Linked DNA regions of Homo sapiens: regions 1, 2, 4, 5 and 6 are each linked to region 3. Evidence: promoter capture Hi-C in 16 types of primary human blood cells and fetal thymus (Javierre and others, 2016). All regions are on one chromosome and are shown on one strand. Each heading gives the region's core, a stretch centred on a gene start or on the middle of the fragment in contact. The rest is flanking DNA. Distances are from core to core; before and after follow the strand shown. Region 1 overlaps STXBP6 (syntaxin binding protein 6). Region 2 overlaps STXBP6 (syntaxin binding protein 6). Region 3 holds the start of STXBP6 (syntaxin binding protein 6). Region 4 overlaps STXBP6 (syntaxin binding protein 6). Region 5 overlaps STXBP6 (syntaxin binding protein 6). Region 6 overlaps STXBP6 (syntaxin binding protein 6).

The links. The method cuts DNA at HindIII sites, captures the fragments that hold promoters and counts their contacts. A CHiCAGO score of 5 or more calls a contact.
Region 1: a contact is called between a fragment that was not itself captured here and the fragment with the promoter of STXBP6 in region 3, in 4 of 17 cell types (M1 macrophages, M0 macrophages, M2 macrophages and 1 more). The highest score is 8.0, in M1 macrophages.
Region 2: a contact is called between a fragment that was not itself captured here and the fragment with the promoter of STXBP6 in region 3, in 6 of 17 cell types (M1 macrophages, M0 macrophages, M2 macrophages and 3 more). The highest score is 7.0, in M1 macrophages.
Region 4: a fragment that was not itself captured here is called in contact with the fragment with the promoter of STXBP6 in region 3 in 5 of 17 cell types (M2 macrophages, M0 macrophages, monocytes and 2 more); the score reaches 11.1 in M2 macrophages.
Region 5: a fragment that was not itself captured here is called in contact with the fragment with the promoter of STXBP6 in region 3 in 7 of 17 cell types (M2 macrophages, M1 macrophages, M0 macrophages and 4 more); the score reaches 10.7 in M2 macrophages.
Region 6: a fragment that was not itself captured here is called in contact with the fragment with the promoter of STXBP6 in region 3 in 6 of 17 cell types (erythroblasts, M1 macrophages, M2 macrophages and 3 more); the score reaches 9.8 in erythroblasts.

The regions. Positions count from the first base shown.
Region 1 is chr14:24,891,827-24,895,752 of GRCh38, reverse strand. All of the region lies in intron 2 of STXBP6 (syntaxin binding protein 6), which reads left to right. Among named protein-coding and RNA genes, the nearest start is that of STXBP6, 160 kb to the left of the region's middle. The HindIII fragment of the contact is 4,896 bases long and covers 1-3,926 here.
Region 2 is chr14:24,911,226-24,914,833 of GRCh38, reverse strand. The region is part of intron 2 of STXBP6 (syntaxin binding protein 6); the gene reads left to right. Among named protein-coding and RNA genes, the nearest start is that of STXBP6, 140 kb to the left of the region's middle. The HindIII fragment of the contact is 1,338 bases long and covers 735-2,072 here.
Region 3 is chr14:25,048,265-25,052,342 of GRCh38, reverse strand. STXBP6 (syntaxin binding protein 6) reads left to right here and starts at 2,196. Exons shown (of 6, transcript NM_001394410.1): 1 at 2,196-2,465. LOC124903295 (a long non-coding RNA gene) reads right to left here and starts at 1,999. Exons shown (of 2, transcript XR_007064091.1): 1 at 1,909-1,999; 2 at 1-117. The HindIII fragment of the contact is 7,485 bases long and covers 485-4,078 here.
Region 4 is chr14:24,838,523-24,842,236 of GRCh38, reverse strand. All of the region lies in intron 4 of STXBP6 (syntaxin binding protein 6), which reads left to right. Among named protein-coding and RNA genes, the nearest start is that of GZMB, 210 kb to the right of the region's middle. The HindIII fragment of the contact is 3,105 bases long and covers 822-3,714 here.
Region 5 is chr14:24,874,478-24,878,432 of GRCh38, reverse strand. The region is part of intron 2 of STXBP6 (syntaxin binding protein 6); the gene reads left to right. Among named protein-coding and RNA genes, the nearest start is that of STXBP6, 170 kb to the left of the region's middle. RefSeq lists a silencer at 3,256-3,550. The HindIII fragment of the contact is 2,419 bases long and covers 1,455-3,873 here.
Region 6 is chr14:24,856,596-24,860,430 of GRCh38, reverse strand. STXBP6 (syntaxin binding protein 6) reads left to right here. Exons shown (of 6, transcript NM_001394410.1): 3 at 3,274-3,404. Among named protein-coding and RNA genes, the nearest start is that of STXBP6, 190 kb to the left of the region's middle. The HindIII fragment of the contact is 1,067 bases long and covers 1,386-2,452 here.

The sequences.
Region 1 (3,926 bases), core at 345-2,844, 160 kb after region 3:
TGCCTGCAGAGCCTATGCTCTGATATTGCTCCAGCTACCACTTTTAACATTTAGTGTTCTGACTTACTATTATAATGGAAGCCCTACCCTATCTTCTGCGTATTTGAGAGGATTTGTTTTTTTATTCATATCTTCGAATGTCTGTGAATGACTCTGACCTCAATCCTGTATGTGTCTGGACCTCTACTAGAAAGCATTTGGCATATGGGTAGCTTACCCAACACAAGGATACACCACCAGGAGTGGCTGAGTGCTACGGGAGCTCTTAACAGAAGAGAAAGTTATTGCGACTCCTCCTAACCGCCTTCCTTTCACTGGACATGAATGCCAGTAAACCTAGTCCTGTTGTTGAAGTCAGAACTGAAGAATGGGCCCTCTAGATAGAATGTAAGCACATTGCATTTAAATCTCTTTTCCTTAATGGTACAATTAGGCAGGGATAAACAGTGTTAACATGTTGGAATTCCTCGTGGTTTTTATTTCCTGGCTACAGTCAATCAAATGGTCATTTCACAATGAAAAAAATCTGGACACTTTTGTGTTCTGTGCCTTGCTCCTTTGCTGCTGATATTGGAAAATACCACTATTTTGGCCAACTATAAATTAGACTGATTTCTGTGAGAAAAACAGTTCTTGGGAACATTTAGTAGCTTAACACGTGGACCATGGTTAGTGTTTGAGATAAAAATAGAGATATTGACTTGGGCTTATTCGCTTAGAAAAAAATCTCATTTTAGAGGTTAGTACTAACACACGAGAAAGAAAAATAGCCAGACAAGCTCAAGGCAAATATCATAAAACCAGTGGGATATGATATGGAAGGAGCTAGAGAAATTTTCCTGAGCATTAAAAAAAAAAAAAGAGAGAGAGAAATAAGGAGAAGAGTTAGAATGGAAAACTTTTAAAATAAAGATTCAGGGAAGTTGTGCAATTGGGAAGCCACGGTCTCCATGAGCCTTTCGTCTGCTAGCTACCACTTTGTACACAATGCAAGAGTTCCTTAGGCTGGTAGAGAGGGGTATTCTGTCCCTGCCCCATTGTCTATAGAGAAAAGTTAATGCAGATGTGAGCAGAGTTGTGAGATGTGGTAAGTACCCCATAAAGCAAACACATGTGAGCAAAGCAAACTCTCAGGTGATAAATATAGCCAAAAGAAAATGCTGTGTTCTATGGATTGGGGGATATGGAATCTGCTTAGGGCTCTTCTCATCAGCATTAAGTTTCCTGTCTGGGGGACACTGACCTTTCCTGGTTCTCCCCCAGTTAACTACACTATCTCTAGTCCACGCTGTCCTGGTTGTCTAGTAAATATTTCCACCTGACCTAAATCCAGGCCAATACAGCACCTCCTGGCATCCCCTTGTATATTCCTACATGGTTTACTACATCACCCTCTAATCACTTTCCCCAACCTAGATATCTTAGCATTAGACTTGGACTTCCAATTCTTTCACCTTTTACATTCAAGAGAGTCCCTAAGTCCTCATCATTTTACACTGGTTTATTTCAGACCTACGTCTTCTCTCTTATGAGACCCTGAGATACTTTCCAAATTGGTCTTTGTCTTTTTGTCCATTTCCATTCAGGCAATCCTCAACTCTGCAAAAACTTTTTTATTTCTAAAATGCAAGCTGAATTTTAATAGTCTTGCCTAATTTTCTAAAACCATGTTCAAATTCCCTAACATGACTTAATCTGTTTCCATTCTACTTTTACCATAGAACCTGTATAACACATGTTTTTTTCTTTTCCCTGATTTGATGCTATAACCCTATTTCTATGATCCTTGGTCCTGATTTTTATTCTTATTTATATTTAATTATCATTTTGTGTTATATGGTCTTTTTATAAAATGCCACTAACCCAAAAGAGGAATGACTAGACTGAAGTTCAGACTTAGAATTATTTTACTGTAAAGCTAGCTGTTCCTTAAAGGCATTGATATTTGTGATCTTACAGTTACTAAGGAAGTCTGTTTTCTAATTTGGGAATTTCTGGAAAATGTTAATGGGAGGTACATATATTTTATTGCCATTTGAAGACAACAAAATGAAGTAACTGACCATTGAGTATCCCTGTAGCCCTAATTTTTATTTGTTAGGCATTTGTGTTAGGGATTATTCACAAAACTTTAGTCATAATTGGAAGTCACAGGTCCCACATTAGTACCCCATATTTTGCACAGATGGAGGCTTTTTTGTTTTTATATATATTGCCTGTTACCTAACACTCTTAAGTGCTTGGGAATTTCCCAACTGAGCAAGACAGCACTGCTTGGCGAATAAGAACACAGACCCTGAAGCCAGATAGCCAAAGCTCTGATCTCTGTTCTGCAACTTAGCTGTGTGGTCTAGAGCAAATTCCTTAATTTTTGTGTACCTTGGTTTCTCCATGTGTAAAATGGATTTAAGTGGTAAGTTCTTTAGGTTTGTGGCCAAGATTAAATAAGTTAATATATGCAGAATACTTTGAATAGGTCCTGGCACATGATAAGCACTCACATCCCAAGTGTTAGCTATTGTTGTTTTTGTCATTAGAGCTGTATTGTTCATACGAAAGGCTAGTTTCTCTGTAAATATTACTATCATTAGATCAAAATCAATAATTTTTAGACAGTCACTATCTCTGGGCATTTGAGTCTCTGGGATCTACTACCACAGCTCACCTAGAAAACAGTGGTCAGGTTGTGTGCACCATACCTGCAGGAGAGACAGCCCAAGCCCCTCTGCAGCCTGGCTGTTGAGAGTGCCATTCCTGGGCTCTCCTGCTGAATGTCTCTTGGCAGAGCACTTCAAAGCAGCGGAATGTGGAAAATGAGGCTCATTCTGCTCCCTCTTCAGGGCTGTGGGAGTTCTAGTTACAGTAATTGATAGTTGAGAACGTGCAAGGTCCACTCGGCTCTCTCCCATTTCTGCCCAAGCCCCTGCTCCTGCTTGATAACATCTTAGTAATGTGCCTCATATTTGATGTTCTCCCACATGGCCCATTGCAGCTCTCATGGTCTGCAGGCCAGATGGAGCCAGTGTGGGAACAGCATGGCCCGGAGGATTGCAACTCAGTGCTGTCAATGGGATGCCAGAGCACAAGGACCAGAGTTCAGAAACCTGCTCTGGCAGTCTGCTCCGAATGCTCATGGAAGACAACATGGAGAGGGGGCGGGGGGTCCCTGCCCTCTGCATGACTTTTCTGGGAAGAAAAAGACTCAAACCAAGGGGTGTGGTTGGCCCAGAATCAGAATTGCTTTCTAAGGATGCAACTCCATGATTTCTTCCTCCTCAGAATTATTTCCCCCCTTGAAGAATATAGAAACATCTGGCTCATTTACCAAGTCCTCTGGCAACCTCTGAAATTTCTAAAGCAGAATAGCTCGCTAGATACATCAATTTAAAAAATTCTAAAAATAAATACTTCCACCTAAAATCAGAATTTGCACCTAGAATATTTTTCTTTCTCTCCCCTTTCTTCTACCCTCTTTTCCCCCCACTTTCCTCCTTGTTTTCCTTCCACTTTTTTTCTCTCTACTGACCTCTTTCCTTTTTAAAAAAAAAAAATAATGTATACATTACCTTTGTATTGACTGTCTGCATTGCATAAGATGCTCTGAATACATGGGGGAGCAAGACAGACACTACCCCATAGAACCTAATGTGTACATGTGTTGGGGGTAATCTAATAATTTCAAACATATATAGTTATATACTGAGATACTTACCAGGAAAGAAAAGTACTAAGAGCCAGGAACATTTATAAAGGGAACCTGATCTGGTCCAGTTGTAGGAAGGCTTTCCAGGGTATGTGGCTCTTGAGCTTTCCTCTGAAAGATTAATGGGGGTTAACAAAAAGTGAAAGAGCAGGAAAGTCATTCCAGGAAGAGGAAATGTTCTGCACCAGGATAATCAGATGGAAGAAGCCTTACATGTTCAAGA
Region 2 (3,608 bases), core at 154-2,653, 140 kb after region 3:
TGAAATACTCAAATGCTATCAAGCAAGCTCATAAATCTTGATTCATCGTTTGATCAAGATCATAAATCTCCATCAAAGAATTATGCACAAGCCATTTTTCTGATGTGCATCTTAAATGCAAAAGTTAAAAAAAGGAAGTCTTCATGACAACGGATAGCTTAGGGAAAAAATAGACAGCTGTAACAGGGAGCCAGCAGAGTTGTGTCAGGCCTGTGAGGGGCTGCGGCCCTGGCATTCAGGATAGTTGCATATGTTCTTTTAAATGAGGAAAAAGGGGAAATGGATATTTTATTTAGGAAGGGGGAGGATAATGCAACCAGCCTGTCTTTGAAAATTTGTTATTGTCACAAGTTTATAGATTTTTCGTCCTTTGACTAATTAAGGGCAGTATAATAAATTATTACAGTAGCCAGTATTTTGAAATTCATTTTTAAAAAAAGTAAAATAAAAAGCCAAGCATTTGACTATCCTGTTAAGATGCAAATATCATATCTCAATCTTGTGATTGAGAGTATATAAAATGGTGTCAGGCATATTAATAAGAAAGTAGTACTAATCTGTCATACTGAAAAATAAGGGAAGAGCCAAGGACAGTTTTAAAATATATCTTGTGACCAAAACTTGGAAGATAGTCTCGGGATGACAGATGATTAATTAGAAATATGTCAACCTCAGCTGCTAGGAATTAAGGTACCTGTAAGATAAAATCCATGAGAAATTAATTTTAAAAAGCTTTATTTCTTGCATCACAGTGGCATACTTTCTGATACCAGCTTTAGTATCTGTTACCAAATGACAGTGAAAGATGATGCATAATTTAAGGCTCAGTAAATCCCGCTAAGCCTGAGTTGCTGGAGAATGACACATTGACATCTAAAACAAGGCTCAGGAGATGAAAGGGAAAGGCCAAACTGCCTATCAGCTGTAATGTGTCTTGAATCCTTCCCCACATCCACAATGCTTCCTTGAGAAGAGACAATATTTCCCCCTGTTCTGGGGACCACTTTATTCCATTTCCACTTCCTTGGTGGTAAAATGTGAACCAAGATAGTAGCAGGGTTTTTCCAAAGACTATAAAGATTTTATCTCTCATTGTTTTTAATTAGTGTCTTTAAGACACAAGGTTAAACATGGAAATTATATACTATAGCAAAGCAAATTCACTTTTCAAATTGACTATTTAAAAACTTTTAGTGATGTCTAATTGTCTTACAGATTTTCCTCTTCTCAGCATACATCTGAGCTGGGGTTCTAAAAGAGATTGCAGATGTTTTCTTCTCAAAGTAGCCTCGGACACATACAATATGACCCATTCTTTGTTGTTGTTGTTGTTGTTGTATTGTTAATTTAATTTTTGTGGTTGACAAATAATGTACATATTCAAGGGATGCATGGTGATGTTTTGATACATATTATATATAGTGATCAGATCAGAACAATTAGCATACCCTTTATATCAAACATTTATCATTTCTTTGTGTTAGGAACATTCAGTATCCTCCTTCTAGCTATTTAAAACTATATAATACATTCCTGTTAACTATAGCAGATGACCCATTCCTTATTAACTGGTCCTCATCTCCAGGACTGTGGTTTCTCAGCAAAGAAGGAATCATTCCTGTTTGGCCAGTGAAGGAATGTGTGACCATAACTATTGAGCTGCTACTTTTTGTTGGAATCCCCTCAGTGGAGGTTTCCTTTTCAGCATCCTTTAAGATAATTTGAGTTTCATACCATTTGATGAGTCTGTGAATTACCCTGTAATTATACCCGTCTCCTGGCAGGGTAGGTGTTTGCAGCATTAAGATTGGGCTCATAACTCAGGATTGCAAAGAATAATTATGTAAGTAAGAAAAATAGGTTAAATCCCAGTTAACCTAGTGCTGGCTTCTGAAAATACCTGTGGTGGAGTTCCTGTTTTTAAATTTTCAATCTATTTAGACCAGTGTTTTAGTAAAATAGGATAAAAATAAATTGCTAGAAAAATGAAAAAAAGGCAAGTCCACATTTTTTTAAAAAGTAGTGTTATATTCAACTGACATGAAGTTACTCTGTCCATGTTCTATAAAGCTTCTAAGTACCTTATAGCAATTTTTTTCTTATTGCAGAACAGCACCAGATAGCATGGTCTGAGGGCCACACTTTGAGCAGCATTAATCAAGTGTACTCACATTTACTCACTTGTACCTCTTGCCACTCCTGGTCACCTTATTCTTTTAATAAATTGTTATTTAAACCTTAGATTAAGTATGCACTTAAAGTAAGGCTGTATGATTTTTAAATGGATAGATCTAATTGCAAATTCCTATACGTTGTTAAATTGTTATAGAAGATTTTAACAATTATTTGGCAAACACTGGTTGCTGCATTTCACTTTTTTTTTTTTTTTTTTGGCATTCACTTTCTATAAACCTTACCCAGCCACCTTTCCCTGTCACAATACCAAACATTATTATCAGGTGATTTTCAGTAACATCCATTCAAGATACCTTTTATATTTTAACTTAGTTCTTAAAATCTTGAATTATTTGATTGAAAAGCTAGTCTAGGACCTTGGTTTTGCTTAAAATTGAAAGGAAGAGGCTGCTTTAAAGGCTATAAGAAAATAATCACACTAAATTCTAACTCAGACCTCAAGTAGTTAAAAAATTATTTACTTCTACGAATTCCTTGTTCAGATTGGGTACATAGAAAAATAGAGTTACTTATGTACAATACTAGCTTGATGGGACTCTCATGCCAAACAGATACTGCCCACCCTTGGTGGTTATGTTAGTTTCTCTCTTTCCATTGCACAAGTTGAATACAGTGGTAATATTTAAATGGAAAAGACTCAAAATACCACACTTGCTGTCTTACAATATTTGGAGTGCTGCCATGTGGACAAGAAAGTTGAGTAACTCTCCGTGACTGGAGAACACACAGACTCATGGGTAGAAGACAACAGAGAGGCTGATTTCAATTTAAAAAAGGGTTTGTAAACATGTACACAAATGTGCACGTGCATATTTGAGGGAAGACAAGGAGGAACCAAAGAACTCTTCTGGTTTTTCTAAGCTATGTGCTCTGCTGCAGATGTGGCTGCTGGGAAAAGGGTGATAATAGAATAAAGGTTTGGAACACTCTGAGAAATGGAATGAGGCATTCACTGTGGTTGTGTAAAGGAATTGCCAAGCAGCACTGCCAGGCAAATGACTGACTGTTGGGCTGTTAGAGAGGACACTCAGGCGTTAGATATAAATTGGTCTGGATGACTGCCAAGGTGCTTTCCAACTTTGAGAAGCTGGTATCTATAGTGGAGACATCGTCCTGCTTGGTTTCTTTCTTTCTTTCTTTCTTTCTTTGGACATCCTCCTGCTTGATTTCTTTCTTTGGACATCCTCCTGCTTGGTTTCTTTCTTTCCTTCCTTTCCTTCTTCTTCCTTTCCTTTCTTTCCTTTCTCTCTCTCTCTCTCTCTTCTTTCTTTCCCTTCTTTCCCTTCCTTCGTTCCTTCTTTGAGGCAGGGTCTTGTTCTATTGTCCAGGCTGGAGTGCAGTAGCACAAACATGGCTTGCTGCAGCCTTGACCTCCCGGGCTCAAATGATCCTCCTGCCTCAGTCTCCTGAGT
Region 3 (4,078 bases), core at 947-3,446:
AGAATCACCTCCCACACTAAGGTAGGTCCCAGGTGTTTGAGGCAGACACTACCGTGATGACCGGTACATGAGTTAGAGAACACTTTGTACAGAGGGAGAGAGTCCTCTTGACTAGATCTGCAATATTGAGAACAAAAAGAGGCAAGTGAAGATAAAAAAGGAAGGTAGTAGAGGGAGATGACTGGCAATAGAAGCTAGTACAGTAGTATCTTACTTCACAAAATTATTGAGTTACCCAAAAGCTGATTCCAAAGTTTTGTAAATATCATCCCAACACATTAGAAAGGCTTGCTAAATTAAAGAAGCTTGCTACTTAGAGCTTTTGTCAAGCAAAAAGGCCCTTATTTCAATTCAAATTTTACATAGATGACTTGTAGGTAAGAACTCTCAACATTTTCAAAGCCCTTAGACATACATTTCTTTGGATTCTCACAAAAACGCCATGAGAATTGTTTTCCCTTCCACAGATGAGGAAAGTGAAGCTTAGAGGTTGAGCCACTTGCCCATGGAAGCCTGGTAGGGAAATGGCTGAGGTTAAGACCAGGACCCCGGCACACTACTCATTGGCACTAAGGTAGCCCCATGACATGTCTCTACAGAGATAGGCAGAGCAAAAGAAACTTACTTTTTCAGGCAATTTTCTCTGATTTTCATAAAACTGTAGCTACCAAATGGGGATACCTAGGGTATCAGTTTTATGATATCCTAGGTATCCCCGTTTCTCCCATTCTTCCCCTCCAAACCATCTTCCTGGGTCTGCTGCCCTGTCCATCTTCACAGAATTCAGTTCGGATTGTCTCCTCCCCCAGCATCTCTGCTATCTCCACGTAGTCTACAAACTAAGTGCAGGAGCCACAGACTGACAGTCAGGACTTCTGCCTGAGCCCCCATCCACAGCTCAAACCCTCTTTCCTATTTCACTATGCTAATGCTTACCCCTTGCACTCCAAACAAGCAGGTCTGTGTACCACCATCTAACACCCCAACAGGGCCAGGCTAGGGTGAGGTGAGTCACAGCACTTAAAGGTTCACCAAAGAATTCAGTAATCAAGGTTAATATTTTAATGGAATATTTAAAAAAATCAAAATTAATATCAAAAATGCATGATGAAAAATAACAAAATTTTAAATAAAGACAGGGTAAGTTTAGGGGTTTTTCCTATTGCTTCAGGCTCAAAAGTGCCTTCCGGGGCACTGTTATCGGCCCTGCAGTGACTCCCCACACAGATACTTTTACTAATGATGTTTCCCAAAAGTTAGTTCTTACAACCGCTTTCTACATTAGTAACGTCTTTCTTCTTGAACGCTCCAGCATTTAAGTGTAGCGCTCTACTGTCAGGAAAACCCATTTCCCCTAGTAACTAGTAGTACTTCGAAGATATTCTGAATCATCTTGGATCCTTTCCAGCACTTTCCCAAACCACAGTGAGCACTCAGCACCACTTCGCTAAAAGAGTGCAGAATCACAATGCTCAAATCACTGTCTGGGGGGTTCAGCAGGGAGGGGACGCAGATATGTTTTGTTTAGTCCAGGGTGTTTTGAGAAAATTGAATTTGTTATCAAGATTTTACAAATCAGGATATTGTACATGAATATACTCCGTCATTTCTGGAAAAATCAGAAAATCTAGCAACACTAGGTCTAATTCTTGCCCGATAGCAAGGGACCCTGAGAGCAGATAAGCGGCCCTGCCTTCGGAGCTCTCTCCAGTTCGCCTTCCCCCAGTTACAGTGCCTGTCAGGCCCCATTAGATCTTTGAGTTTGCTATCGTAAGAATAAAGGAAGGAGCGCACAGGATAAAAACCCATCGGCTGGGTCTATTCGTTTTTTCCTAGAGAAAAAAAAAAATGTTTCCTGGTTGTCCTTTCGAATATAGTCTCACAGAGAAGCTCACAGAAGCAGCCCACCTTTCTAGCCCACAAACTTCCCACAAGCCGTGAAAGTCGCACCGGCTCTTGCACCCAGATCGGTTTCTCCCGGGTCTTTGGCTCAGGGCCCCCGCCCCTACATTGGCCTTTCCCTTCCTCTGCCACCTCCGCGCTCCGAGGCCTGGGGCGGGTCGCGGGTCCCGGCCCCCAGCCCCCAGCCCCTAGCCGCTGCTCTTTGCCCCGGGCCAGGGCGCTCGGGCTCGCCCACGGCGGCACTGAGCATGCTCAGAGGCGGCCGCGCGGGCAGGTTTGCTTCGCAGGCGCTCGCACTCGGCGGCGGGCGGGCGCGCGGCTGCAGCTGGAGCTCCAGCGCCCGGAGTTGGAGTTGCCGGGAGTTTCCCCCCAACCCCTCCCTTTTCGCGCGCGGCAGCAGGAGCCGGCGCGGGAGCCGCGAGCGGCGGCGAGCCAGCACCCGGGCCGGCTAAGCCTTGTCCGGAGCCCGGAGCCCCGCGCGGGGCAGCCCCCCGGGGAGGAGCCTCGTGCTCTGGGACGCGTGCCGCGCACTGGCACGGCAGGGGCGCGAGCCAGGCTGCACGGTAGGACCGGGGCGAGGGGAGCCAGGCGGTCAGGGCGGAGGCCAAGCCCGGGAGATGCGGTTGCAGCCGCCACGGCTGTTGGGGCGCCTGGCGCTCCGTCCGAGGCGGGTGGCTGTGAGGCCAGGGGAGTAGGCAGGCTCCCAGAGAGATTCTTCCAAGTTGGCGGGTGGCGGGAGAGGGGGCCGCGCGCCCCGGCGCAGCTGCTTTGTGCGCGCAGAGAGGGACTCGTGTCCCTGGTTCTCTCCAACCCTGGGACCCGTTGTGCGGGCAGTATTGGGCAAGCCGCAGAACGGAGCGATTTCCTCCGAGAAAGTTGAGGATGGAGCCTTTTTTTCCGCACCGTCCCCGCGATGGCATGGGCCCCGAGAATGCTGCCCCGAGGCTCCCAGTGTGGGGGAGCTCGGGGTCGCTGCGCCTCTAGCTTGAGCGCAGAAATCCGCGAATCACTCCGATCTTCGCGAACTCTGGCATCTTCTAGGAAAATCATTACTGCCAAAACTGAGGCGAGCTTTTCTGGCGGGCACGGCACCCTGCCCCCAGGGCGCTGGCCCTGGGCGATGCCCCCTTTCCGATCTCAGGCTTGGTCAAGGGCGCCAGGTTCCGAATTCGCGCTTGCCGTGCACGCCGGCATCGAGCCTCACCAACACCGCCGGGCAACGTGGCTGGAGTAGGTGGGTGGCTTGATTTTCCCTCCAACCTTTCCTCAGGTTTACAACACCCCGCCACCTCACCACCCCACCCCGTTCATCTTCACAGAGGACAGGACCTGCAGGTGGAGAATTTGGAAAGACATCTTGTTCTTTAGGAGAAAGTCCCCGGGGTGTATCTGCCCTTGGTTCTGGCCCCAGGATTTCATAACGAACCTTCTCCCCTTCCTATTACGCTTCCCTAGGGACTGGGTGGGAGAGAATAGGATCGGTAGGTCCGCAGGAACTTCCATCTCATTCCACCCTCTCCTAAGATTGCCTTCCGGGCGACCCCAGGACCCTGGAACTGGCATTGTGCGGATTGTAAGGCTGTGGAGGATGCCGACGAATTTTTCCTGGCTCCACTTTTTTCACTTCTTGTTTTGAGTTTTGGGGTTTTGCCTGCACACTAGTCAGAGCTGCGCCCTAGTCAGAGCCACCCTGGGGGTGGAGGAGCTTCAGCCGAGGCTGTGAGCTGCTGTTCGTCTCAGAGGCTGCTAGTGGGAATCGGTCCAGAAATGATTATGCAGGCTAGAAATATGCCTCTCTTTTTTTCTTTTTTGGCTGAACACCTTGGCTGTTGGGTTTGTGTGTTACGTTCTTAAAGGGACACCCTCACACTGCTCAAGTGCCAGGATTTAGGGGCTCACCATTCTGCTGCCTGTTTTTCTCTTTGCTTTTTCCTTGAGGGTAGTCTGCTTTGGGGCCGATTTCTAGATGTGCGAATCACATAATGTGGATACACTACACAGTTCTAGAGTCAGACAGACTTGAGGTCAAGTTTCAGCTTTACAGCTGATGACAGTGCTGATGGACAAATGATTAGTCACTCTGAACTTAAGTTTTCTCTTCTGTCAAACGGAGATAATCGTGGCCTTACCTCCCTCCATTGCAGGGTTGTTGTAAACTCAGATGAGATAATGAAAA
Region 4 (3,714 bases), core at 1,125-3,624, 210 kb after region 3:
GACCAATTGCTCCTTAGGGAAGTGGCTTATAAGAACCTGTGTTCCAGAGAGGCAAGAGAAAACAAACATAGTCTCCCACCCAAGACCTGGATCCAACTGGCCACTAGCCTGGGACTGACTCTGCCATATCCCACATGTTACCCAGAACAAGAGCCTCAGACCATTACTTTAAATCCTGTTGTACCAGGGACCAGCACAGGAAATAATAAAACTGTTACATAGAAAGAAAAGGTCAAGGCAATGAGGAGAAGCAGGAAGAAATTTAAATCTCCCACTGAAGAATATTGTGCACACCAAAATTCTACATGAGAAAGCCAACAAAAATAACAAATGAGAATTGAATTCACCCCAAATGAAATGAAAGTAACAATGAACTCCAATAATGACTTTAAGTACATTTATGATACTCAAAAGATAAAGGAAGAAATTAGAAAAAACGTTAAGATGTTATAACACAGGAACTAAAATGAAAAGACAAAGTGATAGAAAAAAATAATCCTGGAAATGAAAAATGTAGTCTCTGAAATAGACTCATTTGATAGAATAAACTCTAGACTGGCCAGGGTCAAAGACAGAATTAATGAACTATAAGGTATTAATGAGAAATTCACCCATAATACAGTACACAGCAATGAAGAATATAAAGGATGAGTTGTACATGGAAGATAGAACAAGATGCTCTACCATTCATCTCATAGGAATTTTTAAAGAAGGTTTAAGAATGGCAGAAAACCAGTATTTGAAAAGATGATGGCTAAAACTTGCTGAATTGAAGACTCAGATTGAGAATATCACCAAGTGCCACACTTGAAAATAAAGCTTTACCTAGAGAAAAACATAATGCAATAGAACACTTGGGACAAAGGGAAAATATTAAAAGCTATTAAAAATACAGTTTTCCTACTGTGGAAGGATAAACTGATGGCTTGTTCCCAGCAACAAGAGATGCCAAAAGTCAATACATTAATATCTTCAAAGTTCCAGAAATAACTGTCAATCTAGAATTCTGTATCCAGCTAGACTGTAATATAGATGTAAGAGAAATACAAAGATATATTCAGAAAAGCAAAGACTGATTATTCACCACCTCTAGACCCTTGCTGATAGAAGTATTAAATGATGTGCTTCAACATGAAGCACACTGAACCCAAAGGGTAGGAGTGGAGTGTAAGAAACTGTAACGATTGCAAACATGGTAAAAATACACTGCCAAACTTAATTGTCTTAATGATTATTTTAAAATTACTTGGAATGTTTTCTTGAAATAACTGGAGATAAAATTCTAAACAAAAGTAATAAGGAATACATGCTGTATGTTCAATGGATAGTTAATCCATGCTAAAGTTCATTCCAAGAAGGATAGCTACTGAATTAATTTGACAGGAAAAAAAAAAAAGCAGTTACATTTGTTAGACTTCTAGTTTTAAAATGATAGAATATAAAGGATAGTCACCTCTTTTCTTGAAAATTATCCAAAATCAGCTCAGAGAATTTATGAGGGCAAACTCTATCTCTGATGAAATGAGTGTCTGTCTCGAATTACAAACTCCTGTATGTGGGGAAGAGTTGACAAATGCAGTAAAGGTGAAGGTAGATTCCCAAGAGAGAACTCTCATACCTGCAGTCTCAGATAAAGCCTAAAGCCCTCAGAATGAAATGATCCAAAGTGTGTGTCAGTAATCCCTTCTTTAGAACAATGGAGCAGAAGCCAGGAAAGCTCTGGGAGTAATGGGCCCAAATTGGCACAGTGCTGGGACAAGCAAGGCAAGAAGGCTAAACAAAGAATCACACTGTCAAAGCCATGTTGTCAGGAATCAATCTGTTGATGGGCTAAAGTGGAGGAAAGAATCTGAATTCCAAGCAATCCTGTGGTCGCATCTTGTTGAGGAAAAGTAAAGGCTCAAGAGGCCTCTGTCACATACACAGCCCTGCATCATAAGGAGAATGCCAGCTAGCCTGGAAAGTAGTCCTCTTCCCTCCTCAGTACCATGAATCTCCTGCCAATAGCTGTTCACCTTATTTTCAAATCAATGATAATCCCAAAGGAACCAGCAGAGGTGGTTCCATCACTCACCATAAGTATATCCTTGGGCAATTTATAACCTGTCTAAGCCATGGTTTTTGTTTTTTGTAAAATAGAGTAGTAGTTCTCCCATACAGTACTGTGGGGAGGATTAAATAACATAATATACCTGAAACACTAGGCATGCCTAAAACACTAGCTGTAATATACCTAAAACATATCACATGATAAGGAGTCAGTAAATATTTACTGATGACAAAGATCAGCCAGGTGGAATTCTCAGGGCTGAGAACTGACTTGCCTTCTTTGTCCTCTTTCTCTCTAGAAAGCGGTGGTTAAGAACACAGATTCAGTAGCAAGAATTCTAATTCAAATCCTACATCTTTTATTGCCTACCATTATGATTTCAGCCAAATTATTTAGCTGACCCTCAGTTTTCTCATTTGTAAAGAAGGGATAATAATAGTACCTATCTCCCAAAGTTGTTTTGAGGATTAAATGAGTTGTCACAGAGCACTTTGAACTTTGAACAGTGCCCGGCGCTGAGTAAATACAGTACATATTAGCTATTAGTACTTTTCTTTTTCAAGAATGACAAGTCACACAATATACAAGATTACCATACTTTTTGGGTTTTTAGGGACAGTCACCTCAGAGATGTGATTATTCAAACACAGAATCAAATTTGACTAAATTTTTTTTCAAGACGTAGGGTATAATGTCCTGTTGCTCAATTGTATATTCTAAATTTTGATTAGGAGACTATGGGATAATGTATCTATAGATCATGAACCAAATTCTCTTTTGCTTATGGTTAGTCCTTTTTTAAGGTAAATGAACAGCATGTGTTGTATGAATTGGTGATGTGCTGGTACCAACCAGTTGTGATAACTTACTAGTTACAACCCCAGAGCAAAGATCCACAAAAGAGAAAGGAATTCCATTCCTTTCTCTCCGTGTGGGAAATGTCAGATTAGGACTTGAACAGCTTGCTGCTGATCTTTTTGTTAAGGGATGCTGTCAACACAGATATGTCTAAAATTAGAGATCAGAACAGAAGGAGGGCAGGCGGGGACAGACAATGCAACTTTCACTCACAATCACAGAACTCAACTCCCGTGTAGTTGCTTGGCCAGGCTCCCAGTTGAGAAGGGAGATTTTGTAATGTTTCCAGCCTTCATTTTATGGCCTGTTGGACTTTTTATGATCTGGGCTCTCTTTTACCTTTTTTAATGGTTTAGGTTTTTTTTATTATTGTTTCATATTCTTTAGCCTGGTTGACTTTTTAATCTCAGCCTATAGAAAGCATCACAATTTAAATCTCTTAGAAATTTTCAAATCGATAAGAAGTAGCAGGAATTAAATAAGGAAGGGCAGTTGAGTTGTCTATGAATGTAGCTGTTTATGCTCAATCTTGCTCACTCTCCCTCAGAACATTTCTAAAAGGAATTATTAGCCTCTAGGTGCTTAATAAGACATGAAAGGGCCCTTAAGTTACTGGCCATTTTTTCTTTTTTCTCTTTTTTTTTTGAGACGGGATCTCGATCTGTCACCCAGGCTGGAGTGCAGTGGTGCGATCTCGGCTCACTGCAACCTCCATCTCCCGAGTTCAAGCGATCCTTCTGCCTCAGCCTCCCGAATAGCTGGGACTACAGGTGCGAGCCACCACGCCTGGCTAATTTTTGTATTTT
Region 5 (3,955 bases), core at 1,415-3,914, 170 kb after region 3:
ATAACTAAATCACAATATGGAAAAAATAAAGTTGAATGCATACGTGACCCTACTTCATAAATTTCAAACAGATGAAATATTTAAATATTAAAAAGTAAAACCAGAAAATTTTTTAAGGCAGATTCTTTGGTGTAGGGAAGGATTTCCTGACCACGACTGAAAATCGTGACACCATAGAAGAAAACATTGATGAATGACTATTTTTTAAAAAAAGCATAACAAAACAAAACTGCCAAAATGTCATGGTGCAAATCCCCATAAGTCAAAAGACAAATGCCATACTGGGAGAATACTCAAATCACAAAGGGCTAATCTCCTTAGAATAGAAAAAACCACTAGAAACCATTAAGAAAAAGGTGGTCAACACAATAGAAAAATGGGCAAAAAGAAAAAATGAACAGATGATTCACTAAATACAAATGGACCTCACCAATAATAAGACAAATGCAAGTTAAAACTACACTGAGATATAATTTCTCATCTCTCAAATTGGCAAAAAGCATAGCTTGACTACACACTGTTTTGGCATGTATATGAGGAAATAGATATAGATTTCTGGTGGGAGTGCAAGATGTTACATTGCTTATAGAAGGCCAGTGGTAATATTTATTAAAATTACAAGTACATTTGCTCTTTAAGTGTGTAATCCAATCCACTTCTGGAACTTTATTCTCAAAACATACTTGCAAAATTATTTATGCAGCATTGTTTGCAATAGTAAAAGATTAGAAACAACTCACTATCCATCAGTGGGGGACTGGTTAAGTAGTTCATGTTTCATCCTTAGAATGGAGTTAATGTTATGCAGCTATACAAAGTAGGAAGAAGTTTGCTGTGAATTTAGATTTTTTCCACGAATCTTGAGGAGTTCCGAGATAAAATAATAAGGAAAAGAGGGAAGGAGGGAGGAAGGAAGGAAAGAATATGTATATAATATGCTACCTTTTGTGTAAGAAAGGGAGGAAATGAGACTGTTTATTGTTATTTCCATGTAAAGAAATTATCTAAAGGTATACAGGAAGGCAGGGGAAGAGGAATGGAAAGGAGTAGATGGACACAGAGATGGGAGTAAGATGTCTCAATATGTTATTTTTTGATTGTGTGAAAATGTATTGCATGTTTAAAATAAAATTTTAAAAAGAACAAGTAGTCAGCAAGCACTGGCAGCATTTATAAAATGGTTTTGAGGTCTTTGAGTACAGACCATCATAAAAGAGCCATTGTATTCAATTAGCAGATGTCCAGCCAATGTCTTCTGGATGCCCCAGTGAGTGACCAGATTTCTAATATGTTCACAGATGTTCTTTGTTTTGTTTAACCACGCTATATTAATAAAGCTCATACTTCTTAGCATTCCCTATAAGCTTAAGCAATACTGATTGCAATTAGGCCAAATATATACCTGCTGAATTGAACTCTTCAAAGTAGAGTTTTATGAGAAGGGAAGCCAAGCTTAAAGAGTGAAATATTTTGATAATCCCTGGCATATAAGAAAATTTAAGAAAACCAACCAGGCTTAACATCTTCAGCTCAAAACACTACTTAACTGTGTGTTAAATTATAGTGCCAAAATTCATTCACTTTCCATTTGCATCTGATTCATCATTGCTCTAATTTTTAATGTTCTTAAACATTACCAGTTGAAGCTGTTAAAATCCAGTAAGTGCCTTCGCAGACCCAATTAAATGCCCAATTACCAATTTTAGGCTCTTGACTTACATTTTAAAATTAAGTGAACCTTGCCCTGCAGCTGAATTGCTAATGGATAGCGTATCTCAAGGGAAGTAAGATTCTCAGTGTTCTCTCTCAGGAACATCGTTTCCACAGTTTAAGCAGAAACACAAGTACATCATTGCTGCTTCTATGTCAAACCCCTTGTGCTGCCCCATACTAATGTGAGTTATAACTATGGGTGTCCTTGCAAGAAGAGGAAGGAGATTGAGGGCAAACATGTGTTGTCAGAGCCTGGGCAGGGGCACTGGAATAATTTCCTTTTCAAGAAAATAATAGTGCCTTTGTGTTGAGGCCAGGAAACAAGATGAGGAAGTTTGGAGTTCTGCTTTTCAATATAAATATGTATTTAACAAGATTACTTCCTAAACATTAAGTTTGAGCATAGAGTATCCAGAATTCTTGGCCAGGATATGAGTTGCCTTAAGATTCATCCCAGGTCAAGGCAATCTAAAAGAAATCAGCTGCTCTCTGGCTGGCTTTATTTCTGTACCTGTAAGGCAGGCCTTCCCGGTTAGTAGGGTTCCTCTTTTTAGTTATGGAAGCACAAGGGTAGTTTCAGAGTTAAATGAGATCTGCCTTGCTTCTCTTTTCCTTGATCCTTATCAGCCTTCCACCCACAGCACAAATGACACTGCTTTCATAAAGAAGCTGTCCTGCATCCACCAAAAACCCACCTCTCACCCCACCCCTCCACTCTGTTTGGTGTTATACACTTGTGATGATAATAAATACACAGTGCCGTATTTATCATATCCTGCCACTATTTCAACGCTTAGGAACTTGTCATTTCTCTTCTGAAATGTGAACCCCCTGATGAATATGACTGCACTTCAATCACCTTGTACCTATTTCCACCCCTCAACTCATTTCCCCTCCCGCCACCCTTACCCCTTGTGTCACTTTTCCTTCAGTATGCACACAGTAAATATTTTTTGATGAATGTTATTTGTGCCTTCAGATTTTTCCAGAAGAATAGTCACACTGCTTTATGATTCAAGTGTTGGCAGTTTAAATTCCTCTTAAGTGAAATAGAAAATTTACATAAATGTCTCATATTCGGCTATGATTCCCTCCAGGGGAATTTAGGAAAGTTATGAGCATAACATCTTTCCACTTTCAACAGAATAGATTTCTCATAGCATGAAGCTCCTTCCTGCCAAGAGTCCTCCCCTTGCTACCCCACCCCAACAGTTCATCCAACAATCTTTTTAAGAATCTCAAATGAGTCCTAAAACAATGCCTGGACATAAAGAGTTGAAGATTCTTTGTGTGTTGGACGTTTAAAATGAATAGACATTATACATTTTCAGCTTTTATGTAAAGATCAATCATACTATTTTTATCTATAAAGTGGTATTCTGTTTCTCATTTTATCAGTGAGATCTCCAGGCTTGAGAGAAGGGGCATCACAGTGGGCAGCATGCACTTCTGTGACTCATAGAATTGTGAGGGCGCTCTTAGGGTCTTTCTCATCTGGTGTTTTTGAGACCCAGATAGGAAAAGACACATGTAATGTCCATGGACAGGTAGGCAGAATGGGCACAGGACCCCCAGCCTCCTGACTCCCGGTCCAGGGCTTTCTCTCCGATGCTTCCTCCCTGTTAGAGCTGCTGCTGTTATTCAGTTAGCTGCAGTCAGTGCTAATGGGTACAAGGTTCATTCTCCATGTAGAGCAGCTTCCTTTGCAGAAGGGATTGCTTAGTTTCTAGGCCAAATCCTGTGCTGTTTTGGCCCATGATGGAGCAGGCGAGGAATGATAGGGTGATTTGATAGCAGAAACACTGGCTTCCACTGGAGAGCCATTTTAATGAGCGTGTTCCCACTCACAGGGAGTCAGGAAGGAGCATCCCCATCCTCTCAGGAGACAGCCGGTCGATGTGTAATTCTTTGAAAGAGCCACCGTGTAGTGCTGGGACCCCTGCAAAGGGACCTTGTCTAAGACCCCCAGCAGGAAACATGTTATGGATTCTCACATAAATTTCCTTCTACTTTGTTGTCTCAGCAAACAACTTTTTTCTCATATCTGAAAAATAGTCACTTAATTAGCTTTACTCTTTGAATTAAAATGACCTTCTACCTGTGACAATACATGGACCATCCTAGCTTTCTGCTTGGCTTTATGCTTTGGTGAACAAAGCTTGTTTACATTTGGGAGCGATTTGGATTCTGGCTGTGTTTCTCCAGAGCCTTTCAAGGATAGTGGCTGAGACGGCATGGGTGG
Region 6 (3,835 bases), core at 670-3,169, 190 kb after region 3:
GGCGGTATATGAGCTCTTCTCCCATTTCACATAACATGCAAGTGACTTGTCTTTCTGTCTTTCTTCATTGGTCTTTGTTCCCTCTTCTACCAGTTCTACTTTCCTGACTTGTTGCAAGACCAATTTGTTATGACATGGTCTTTGTTATTGGCTGGCTTATTGGTTTTTAATTAAATAGAATTCTCTGATTGGGCACAGGCAAGGTCAGTGGTCTCCACCCTTTGAGTATAGCAAGTTTTCGAATTTTGTTTGTATAAAGTGTCTCATGGAGGGGCCATTTTTAAAAAGAGCTCTTTAGACCATTAGTTCATGAGACAGAGATGTTACTCCACTGGAGTAGTGATGGCAGTGATATTTTGGATATTCTGGACATAATAGTTTGTGTCACTGCTTCTTAACCAAAGCTGAAAGGTAGTAGCAAGTCTACATGAAAGCCAAAGAAGAGGCATGAAGCCATGAAAACCATGTTGTTTTTTCAGAGCTAATAGCAAAGCGGCCTGAATTGGGTTGCCCCCATGCTTCTGCCTGCCTCTGATACCAGTGCAGGAAGCCGGAGAATCGGCTGCTTCAGAGTGGTCTACAGTATTACCTGGGAGTCATACCCACCCTATTCCTTTAAATGCCTCTGTGTTGGTCTCTTCCCTGTGAATGTTGAAGCCATAACGGAAATCCCCTGACCTTTAAAGTCATTCAAAATAATGACTTTGGGAGTCTCTAGCATGCAGCTCTATGATATTACTGATCCAGATAATTTGGTTGCATTTTCCAGGGTGTACTGTCAATTAGCTTTCCTTTGGAAAGAGAAGGTGAATCACTGTTTTTCACTAGACATCTGGATTTTGTGTGACTGGCGTATTTTTTATCAGCTACTGACTCCCAAAACAACAAAACAATGAAATAGTTAAAGCATGCTTTCCTCAAGTATGTACTCAAAAAGTCTGGCAATGGTGTGTGTGTGTGCAAGTGTTTTGATTTCAGAAGGGGAAAGTCTTAATTTAACTCTATACGATGTGTATATAATAATATAATTTTAAGACACCTGCTTCAAAATAGAAACTAGGATGCTGGAGATAATAACAATAAACAAAAATTAAACCAACCAGGCTCAGTGCCCAGGAAAACTAGCCAGACTCCAAGAACTGGGCAAGGAATAAACTAATAGGGGAGGAAAGGCAGGAATGGATAGAGTTGCAACTGCCTCCATTAAAAATGACTGCTCTGCAGTGTGATCACTGTGGAGGAATTCCATGGGGTCATTTGTCATAATAGTTGGGGTTCCTGCATGCCTCATTTCAATGACAAACTTTCAATGGAACTTACCTTCCTTAGATGTGAATCTTAAAACATGCCCGCAATATACAGTGATCTCGAGTTGTGTTGAAGCTTTTAAAATGCTGTAAATTACTTGGAAGCAAATGGACCAGAAGTGAAAATAGGAGCTCATAACAACTTTAAAGTTAGAAAGAAAGCCTTTATGTTTCCCAGGCTTAAATGTTGTATGATTTACATAAACACAGGAGGAAATTCTCTTTGTGCATTTAGGGGTGTGTGTCTAATACAGGAACCCATGTTTTCCTGTTATTGAAAAGCCTTTTTTAATCTTTTAAGCACATTTTAAGACCTGCCTGTATTCCAGGTGTATTGTTTTCTTTAACATTAAAACGTAAGAGCAGGTCACAGCCATCAGAGAAACCTATTAGGTCTCCCATTTGTGTCATAGGAGACACAAAAAATAAATGAATCGAATTAAATGGATAGACAGAGTCCTGGGCAGACTGGTAATACTGCCTGAATTCAATTAGAGGGAATGGTTGTTCCTATTTGTGAATAGAAGACTATAAAATTTCATCTGATTGTGGGTGTTAAGGGGATGATGACTTCTTAATCATAAAAGTAAATGTAATTGGTATGAAATATTCAGAAGTTTTTAGCAAATATAACTGAAATAATGGGTGATAAACCAAAACATTATTTGAACTTAAAAACAAATCTTCACTAAATTTTGGTTGGAAGCAGAGAGAGTAGATAGTACTCAGGCCATAAAGGTGGTTTTCAGTGCTGGGAAAGTAGGGTTCTCACTAGATCTAAGGACAGTGGCCACCTTTCCTTTGTCTCTGCTCTCCTGCTTTAATGGCCCCCGACAATGAAACTGCAATAAGCTATGGAATGCGTGAACTGTAGAGTCTCCCTGCTCACCAACTGTGATTGGAGTAGGTGCTTTCTGTACTTCATCCCTTCAGAATTCTTTTTGCCATCTGTTGAGCATCTACATAGTTATTCGAAAGTGTGGAATCTGTGGGGTGATTCGAAACAAAGAATATGCCACAGATGCATAGTCTTCAGCAAGTCAGTAATTAGGATCATCTTCAATATAGCCAATAATGATTTCTACTTTCTGTAGTTCCTTTCTATTTAATTTGCTAATTCCTATAGCCAGGGTTCAGGAGAAGCTTTTAGGAAATCCCTTTAAAGACAATTAATTACTTCCTACCCTTGAGTCTCCATGTCACAAAGTAGGCAGATGTAGAAATATTCAGAGTGCCTCTCCTGGTGCCTGATGCTTGGCTTCAGTCTGAGAGGTGATGCTGTCCATCTTTAGCACAGAAAGGCTTAGGGGAAGAACTCACTGAGGCTGAGAGAAGAAATTGTCCTTTTCCTACAGGTGTGGAGGTGTGCCCAGAACACCAGATTCAATCATAATTAGATGCAAACTAGATACAAACTGAACAATATTAGAGAGCCAAATAGTTTGGGGATTTTTTGAGTTAGGGATTACTCCTCATCACTGAAGCCTAAGATGTTTACACTGGACTATAAAACTAGAAATATACCTTGCAGTTCTCTAGGGGAGCCAATTACCTTCATTTCCTTTCAAATTCAGCCTTTCCCAGTGAACCTTACCTGATGCCTGTCAGTACTATATGCTTCTTTTCCTGCAAGCTGTAATTGTGCACTTATAGCCTCCATTGAAGGTGCTTGGTGTTATTCACTTAAGTCATTTTCAGTTTGAATGGATAAACACATAAATGAAGCAGCCCTTACAATTATAATTATATTGTAAACTGCTTCAGAGTGGAGATTGTAACATCTATTTCCTTTACGTTCACCCCTGACCAAAGGCACACATATTTATTCATATTCCCTCCTTTCCCCCTCTGCCTTCTCTCTGTTATTGTGCATATACACAGTAGGTGTCCTGTAGAAACAGCACTGAATGTGGAAACAAACCACCAACTTGCAGGTGCACTAATCTGAGTGATCTTTTCTTGGCAGTGACAAACAAGAAACCCACACAGGCGTCCATCACAAAGGTCAAACAGTTTGAAGGCTCCACATCATTTGTTCGGAGATCACAGTGGATGCTCGAGCAGCTTCGCCAGGTTAATGGTATCGATCCTAATGGGGTGAGTGAATTGTCCAATGCTGAGCAAAGGCATTCTTTTCACAAGATGACTCTCTGATTGACCTTGGTAGTGGTAGTGGTGGTTTGAATCATTCTTAAGAAGGCTATTTCTCTATTTCAATTATGTGATTAAAACTTTCGGATACAGAGTCCTTTCTTATGGGAAATTATAAATCTTTTCATCATGTTTAATAGAGGAATCTAACAGAATGCATATTGAAAAAATGTGACCTCCGGTAACATTGATCAGCAAAGTACGAAGTTCAGAGTGCAGATAATCATATCGATGGTTATCAATATGGAAAAAAAAAAACATGTTTACCAAAACCTCATTTATCTCCTACTGGCACTAATGACAAGGTGTATTTACCAAAAATCAAGTAAATGAATGGTATCTTTCAGTATGCATTGTGATTCCCTTGCTTTTAATAG